Regions from separate parts of the Homo sapiens genome. Here region 2 is linked to region 1. The links are contacts of gene promoters, found by promoter capture Hi-C in human tissues and cell types (Jung and others, 2019). All regions are on one chromosome and are shown on one strand. Each heading gives the region's core, a stretch centred on a gene start or on the middle of the fragment in contact. The rest is flanking DNA. Distances are from core to core; before and after follow the strand shown. Region 1 holds the start of TMEM106B (transmembrane protein 106B). Region 2 overlaps LOC105375156 (a long non-coding RNA gene).

What was found. The method cuts DNA at HindIII sites, captures the fragments that hold promoters and counts their contacts. A contact is called where the count stands out against the background at its distance.
Region 2: a contact is called between a fragment that was not itself captured here and the fragment with the promoter of TMEM106B in region 1, in 1 of the 25 tissues and cell types used here (H1 embryonic stem cells).

The regions. Positions count from the first base shown.
Region 1 is chr7:12,209,802-12,213,191 of GRCh38, reverse strand. TMEM106B (transmembrane protein 106B) reads right to left here and starts at 1,898. Exons shown (of 8, transcript NM_001134232.2): 1 at 1,767-1,898. RefSeq lists enhancers at 1,181-1,697, 2,090-2,139, 1,698-2,216, 2,350-2,499 and a silencer at 1,600-1,909. The HindIII fragment of the contact is 10,585 bases long and covers 1-3,390 here.
Region 2 is chr7:12,487,050-12,490,311 of GRCh38, reverse strand. All of the region lies in intron 6 of LOC105375156 (a long non-coding RNA gene), which reads left to right. It also overlaps a transcript of C7orf78 not described here. Among named protein-coding and RNA genes, the nearest start is that of C7orf78, 16 kb to the left of the region's middle. The HindIII fragment of the contact is 7,072 bases long and covers 1-3,262 here.

The DNA.
Region 1 (3,390 bases), core at 649-3,148:
TTTTAGGATAAGAGTATCAAAATAACAATACAAATGTAAAAATCTAAGTAGAAATAAATAATTAGTACTAGTGCCTACACAAAAATAACTTCTGCAGGTAGATAATGAAGTAACTTTATACTTAAGGTCATACCCTTTTAAAGCTGAAAAGAACTTAACAGTCATATAATACACCCTGCTGGTATTTTCCTGCTTATATCCTGAGAAAAAATAAAGTGAAAAAGTAAAACTGAAAAATAACATAATTATACTCCTTCTAAATTTGATATGTCTTTTAGCGGTTCCTAAAAATAGATTACATACATTCAGACAGATAGTATTTCTTTCAAAAATTCTCACTTATTTGATTAAACAAAACAGACATTCCAAGTAAGTCAGTTCATCCTAGAGTATGAAGAAAATTTTACTTTCTAGAACTGGCATGCCTGATAGGAGCCTGCTTGGTGGGTACAATGTGTGTTGCTCCAGTGCTGGATGCACTAAGGGCTCTGACTTCACCAGGATGTTGTGTATCAATGTAGCAAATGGCACTTGTACTCCATGAATATACACAAAATAAATACAAAGATAAAAAAATAAATAAAATTCGCATGCCATCCACTTGTTGCTGTCACTCAAATAAACAGAATTTAAAAAACTATACAAATGGTATGCAAACAAATGTAAAATGAGATTTTCACTCTTTCAAAAAAAAAAAACTATGTATTTATAAAAATCACTGCCCACATCAAAAATACAAATGATTTATGACTTCTAAAAAATCATTGTCTTAATCAACACCTGTCAGCCACAGGTAGGATAGGGAAGACTTAACATCACTGTCCCCACACACTGTAACCTTGGGGTCTATGCGGAACACTAGATGAATTGGGATCATTGGGCCTTATCAGCAAGGCCTTAAGGGCACTCTTTCTGGGATCTCAGTCAACACAGCCAGGCTGTAAGCTGCATCTTAACTGGAGCGCGTTGAGAAAAAAGACACAGAAAGGCAGACTCAAGTGGCTCTCCGTTTGAGCCTGTTTTCTGTCCTAATCTAATAGCTGCCATGATCGATTCTGCTTTAGGGTAGGTGTTTGGACAAGTGCCAGACTCTGTGAGAAACTGGGAATCCCTTGCCTTCTCTACTAGATTTTCCTTAGAGAACTGACAAGTGTAACCACTTTTATTCTTGGGAGACTCAATGGTTTAAAAAAGGGGTGCTAGACCCTCTTCTGCAACCTCTGTGGGCTCAGTGTTATTTATTATAGCGGTTCCTTAGTTTACTGAAAGTCAACATGGATATCAGACTCAGTTTGGAGAGAAAAAATATATCACAGCACTCCAATTTAAATGGCTCCTGATCTTCTGTGTAGACACTGGTTTTAGTTCTAAAAGGGCTTGAGAACTAAGGAAACAAGCGCCTTTGAAAAGCTCCATAAACAACACCTAGCACAAAGCCTACTCTGTAAAGCTGCAAAATAAGATCCCGGCACCACGGCAAGAACATTCATCAACAGCAAAAGGAAGAGGGCCACCTGGCGCTCAAGGTGTGAGGGCCTAGAGGCAACCCAGAGGTAGGGCTTGGGCCGAAGCCGAGTGTTCCCTGGCTGGGCCTCATTAGAGGCGACACAGCAACTCGATCACCAGCCCTGACCGCCGCCGTACCTGCGGCTGGCCCAGCACCCCAGCGGCCTCCCCTCCTTGTCAGGCCCGGCTCAAGCCGCGGCGCAGCCGCTCAGCCTCGCTCCGGAAGGGGACCTGGGGACTGCACGTCCGGGGTCGCTCACCGGCACGCGGGGCGCTGCGCAGTCCCGGGCTGCTTCGGCGCGGACAGGGCCGAGGACAGGGTCGTGGAGTCCACAGTCCCGGGAGCCGGGGGGTGGAGCGACCGGCCTGGAGCGCGCGGCCGCCGTAGAGCTGGGACGGGGGAGGGGTAGGATAACGACGGCATCAGCAGAGGCCAAGCGCTGCTGTAACCTGCGTCCGCGCCTGCGCAGAGCGCTCCCGGAGGGACACCCCTGGCGTGCGCGTGACGCATGCGTCCTTCTTCCTCCTGTTTGAGCCCAGAGGCGTCGATCGTGTGAGATTGTGCGCTCTTCAGGTTTCATTACCTTCGCGTCCCCCAGACTTCAAAGTGTCCACTGTAGCCACGAATTACCTAGGAACAGTCGCTCCTCCTATTTCCCATATCAGACCATTTCCTTTTGCAAAGGGTATAAATGTGCACCATCTGCCTCAGCTTTCAGCTGAGCAGCCTCCTCGCTCACGCAATGCGAGTTGTCGCTGACAGTCTGGTCCTTAGGAATGGAATAAACTGGTCCGTACACACGCCGCTGACAGCAGCAAAGCTACCTCTATTTTAATTTAGAAACTGGCCAACTAGAAGGAGACAGCAAGCGGCAAGGCCGTAGTTTTTGTTTTTGCTCGGTTTCGTTTCGCTTTGCCCACGCTGCCCCTCCCCACCCCTTAACTCTGGTGCTAGTTACAGGTGTGTGAAATCCCGTCTCGGATCCCAGTACTTAAGCTCTTCGCTGTGGGTTGGGGCTGCCCTCCCCCAACGTCTAGGTCATTTCACTTAGAAGATAAGAACAACGACAAGGAGTCGTTTTGAGGGATCAATGAGATGCCGGTAATAATATTAAGGGCACTCTAGTCTCATTCCTGCGGAGAGTTTAACGTTTAATGAATGGTAGGCATTCTTACAGTCACAGGAGCAAGGAAGTGAGAGTCATATATTTCTCTCTTCTAACAGGATCAGTGTGATCCTGTTAGAATCAGGGAATTCTAACAGGAATTGGGAAATGAAGCTATGTAAAAGTAGGAAATACAAGTCAGAACGATATACAATTTAAGAGGATTACTGTAGATCCATATGTGAGATAATGAGCTTTCTCATACAATGTTGTCGGAGATTTAAAACTCCTAAGTTTTCTGGCAGACAGTCAGTATGTATCAAGACTATTAAAATGTTCACATCGTTTGGTCCAGCAATTCCACCCTTTCAGAAGTATCCTAAACCTAATGAGAACTCTAAAAAGATTTGGGTATGAGGTGTATCCATTTAAATAAACTGAATGTCCAACAAGGGACATTGATAAAATCATTATTTTTCAACCGCTTTTATTTAGCCCATATTTTCCAAAGGGAAGGGTCAGGGTGTCTTCCATTAACACTGTTTGAAATTTCAAAATTAATAGGTTGGTTAAAACAAATCAGAATCATGGGGGAAAATTTTTCTCAAAATTATTGACAGTCCACCTGTGGAGATATGATGTTCCCCTTGGAATTACTGAGTTTTTAAAATTATGGAATAGCCATCTATTGAGTTTTTATAAAGCCAGTAAAAACCATCTTATAAGGCTGTTATACGCGGAGTGATATAAAATTAAAATCAGGATGCAAAGTATAGGA
Region 2 (3,262 bases), core at 602-3,101, 280 kb before region 1:
ACCAGCAGAGGGCATAATTATCATGTTAAAGTGAGCATCATCCCTCTATTATGATTACAAGCAGGTAATAATACAACCTTGCTGAACTTCAGTTACATCAGAAGTAAAATGTAAATAGACCACTACTTTGTAGAATAAGATATGGTGCTCAAAGTGCTAAGTTCCTGGTTGGGTGATACTAACCACTCAAAAAATGTTAGCTATTAATATTATTAAATATCTGTCCTCATATTGTGCTTACCACAGCAAGAAAATAACCATTCTATATAGAAATATTTTCAAAAAAAGGCTAAATATAAGATTGTGATAGTATGGAAAATTTCAAAAATGAAAGAACTGGACTTACTACCCACTGTTTACACCAATCATGGCTTTTAGAGATCCCCTCAGGGTCTTCCATGAAATGTACATCCACTAGCTATTGAAAGCAAATGTCGATGCCACCTGTCACTTTCTCCTGCCAGCTTCATTACTTCCCCACCCATCTTCTACACATCACTGCTGTCCAAAATGCAGCAATATTGGTCCTATCCATATCTCTTCTAAAATTCTAGTTTTATGTCCTACATAGCAATTTTGCCTGTGGTTTTTTGTCTTGGCTTTTCTTCTTAATAAACCCTGACTTTGCCCAGCAAATAGTATTTGTCTTGCCCTCTAGCCTCCTGAAGGCATTCCCGCTTCTAGATACAGGTGAAGAAACTTCGGCTCCAATCCAAGCCCTAGACCAGTATCATGACTATGAGGTGAATGAAAAATAAGTGCGATCTGCATAGTTTATAACTTAATGTCCTAAGTTACCTCTCTGAGATTAGTTATATATATTAAGTGTTTACATTTAAAAGGATCTACTGAGTTTTCAAATACTGTAGACCTATACGGAATTCTGCTTCTTAGTTAAAATAAAAGTTCAATCAATCTCAGTTTTCCGTTTTTCAAAAATTCTGTTTCCGTTAATGTTTTATTATGAATGTGTTTCATTAAATAAACTTGCTGAGTTAAAGACACTTGAGCAAATGAGGGGAAACAATGCATATAAATAACCATCCAGATGATATATACATGCCAAATTATTAATAATGATGTAATGTGACTAAAAATCTTGAAATGTATACTGACTATTGGGGTAATCTTTTTCATGACAGATGTCCCTTGCTTTTTGTCTATACTGTTACAAGCCATTATGAAAATGATATTTTAATATGCCCCAATACTTCTTATTCTAGTGCAACAATAAGAATTCTTTTATATTGCAAATATCTTCACCATAATAGCCAGCATTTGGGTATTCCTTTTCTATGGTCTTTTCTTTCAAATTTCCAGGGCAAACTAGGGCAATAAAAGGTAGTCAAATATACGGAAACTCTTCTTAGCCAAAGCAAAAAACCAAAAAAAAAAAAACCAATCAAACCCCCTCCACACATATTGATTTAATTAAGATTAATTTCTCTGAAAATAATACTTTACAAGAAACATTTCATTGTTAAAATTGCACTTTCTTACAACAGCTACCTCAGAATGCATATATGGTATGAATATAACTTTTAAGCAATTCTTTTTGAATTTCACTTCTTAGATAAATACATAATTTATAAGCTATAATTTATCCTCATTGAATGTCCAAGGGCTTTATATTTTTTTTTTGCTGAGCTGTTTCAAACCACTCTGCCTTTGTCACATTCATAAAGGTGCAGCTGGCCATATGGGCTGTTGGCTAAATGATTCTGCAATGAGATTTGAATTTATCTAGAACTTGTTTCATTCTGAAATCCTGGATTCAGGCTCTCATTTGGCTCCCTATATACATCATTTAATTGAAGAAAAAGCTTGACTTTTCCAATAACTATTCTAAAAGTATAATTGACAGTAAGCTACAATTTAGTTAGTTTGTATTTGCATTTGTGATTTTCCTGTCATATGTGGACTGTTTTGCATTTGCCATGATTGAATCTCATTTTGGAAGCAGAGTTTTAATGAAGAGCTCTTTCTCAGATATAGGAAATTTAATGGTGAGTTGTACTGTCTTGAAGTTACTAATTCATAGTCTTGTTAGAGATTTGGGAAAGGCAGTGGCCAAATGAAGATAGATGGTTTTCAAATTAAGCAATGTTTGAAAGTTTTATGAAAATAACATATTTCTTTTTAAAGAAACATAATATCTATCAGGGGCACTGAATATTTATAATTCACTAAACTAAATTTCAGCTTAGTCACCTTCCAATCAATATGTATTCTTCTAAATGGTCACATGATACTTGAGAATTGGCATACTTCCAGTAGAGGGTTTCTTGTATTTTCTTTGAAAAATGTGGTAACAGAGTTTTCTGATTCTAAGACGATGGGATAATGTTTATAAATTAGTTGGCAAATTGGAATATACTTTAAATATTGATATTATGACCTGGTGTTTCCCATGCTAGAGAGCTGCTTGTTTGGTTCTTATTGGTTATAACTGCACAAGTATTTAAAAATTTTAAACAAGTACATTGACTTGTTCTACATGCCAGTGATGAGGCTAAGTACTTTATAGGTCACTTAAAGGAGACTGAATCTGTTTTCATATTTTCAGTTGAAAATACTTTTGTTTGCAATTTTTCCGCTACGCTGGCTTTGCTATTGAAGTTTTGCAGAGAGAATTGGCTTTAAAGACTCAATCCTTTATTGGTCCAAATTAATCTGCTGGATTCGTTTAATTCCTTGAAAAACACTCAAAATATTTTTTAGCCTTCTGTAAAGAACTAACCCAAAATTTCACTTACATTCTGTTTTGTTGTTATTATGTGGTCACAGGAAATAAATGGAGGAGTTTATATGGTTTAAAAAGACACCCTGGTCACACATTGGTTTACTCTCTCCTTGCTGAGATCAGACGCCAGGCACTGGAGAAACTGCATTTTGAAGGCCGTGAACATATCTTCATTTTTCTAAAGGATCAGTGTAGTCTTACTTTTATTTGAGTTTATTTCAGTATTCTAATAGGTTGTCTCTATGGATTTCAATCTCAAAGACAGACTTGTAAAATTTAATCCCTGACTTCTCTTCCCAAGTTTCTAGAATAACAACATTAAGTATCAGGTGGATGAAAAATCCAAATACAGTGATCATCAGGCTCATATTCCAAGCTGCCAAAATTATTCCCCAAATTATTTCACTTAATTTTTTGAATTTTCTGTTATTTGTAGAAAAAAGAGTTATCTCTGTTGCAGAGATAGGAAACTAGTCTTGAGATGTTAGGTAACTTACCTAAATTTAATCAGAAAATACA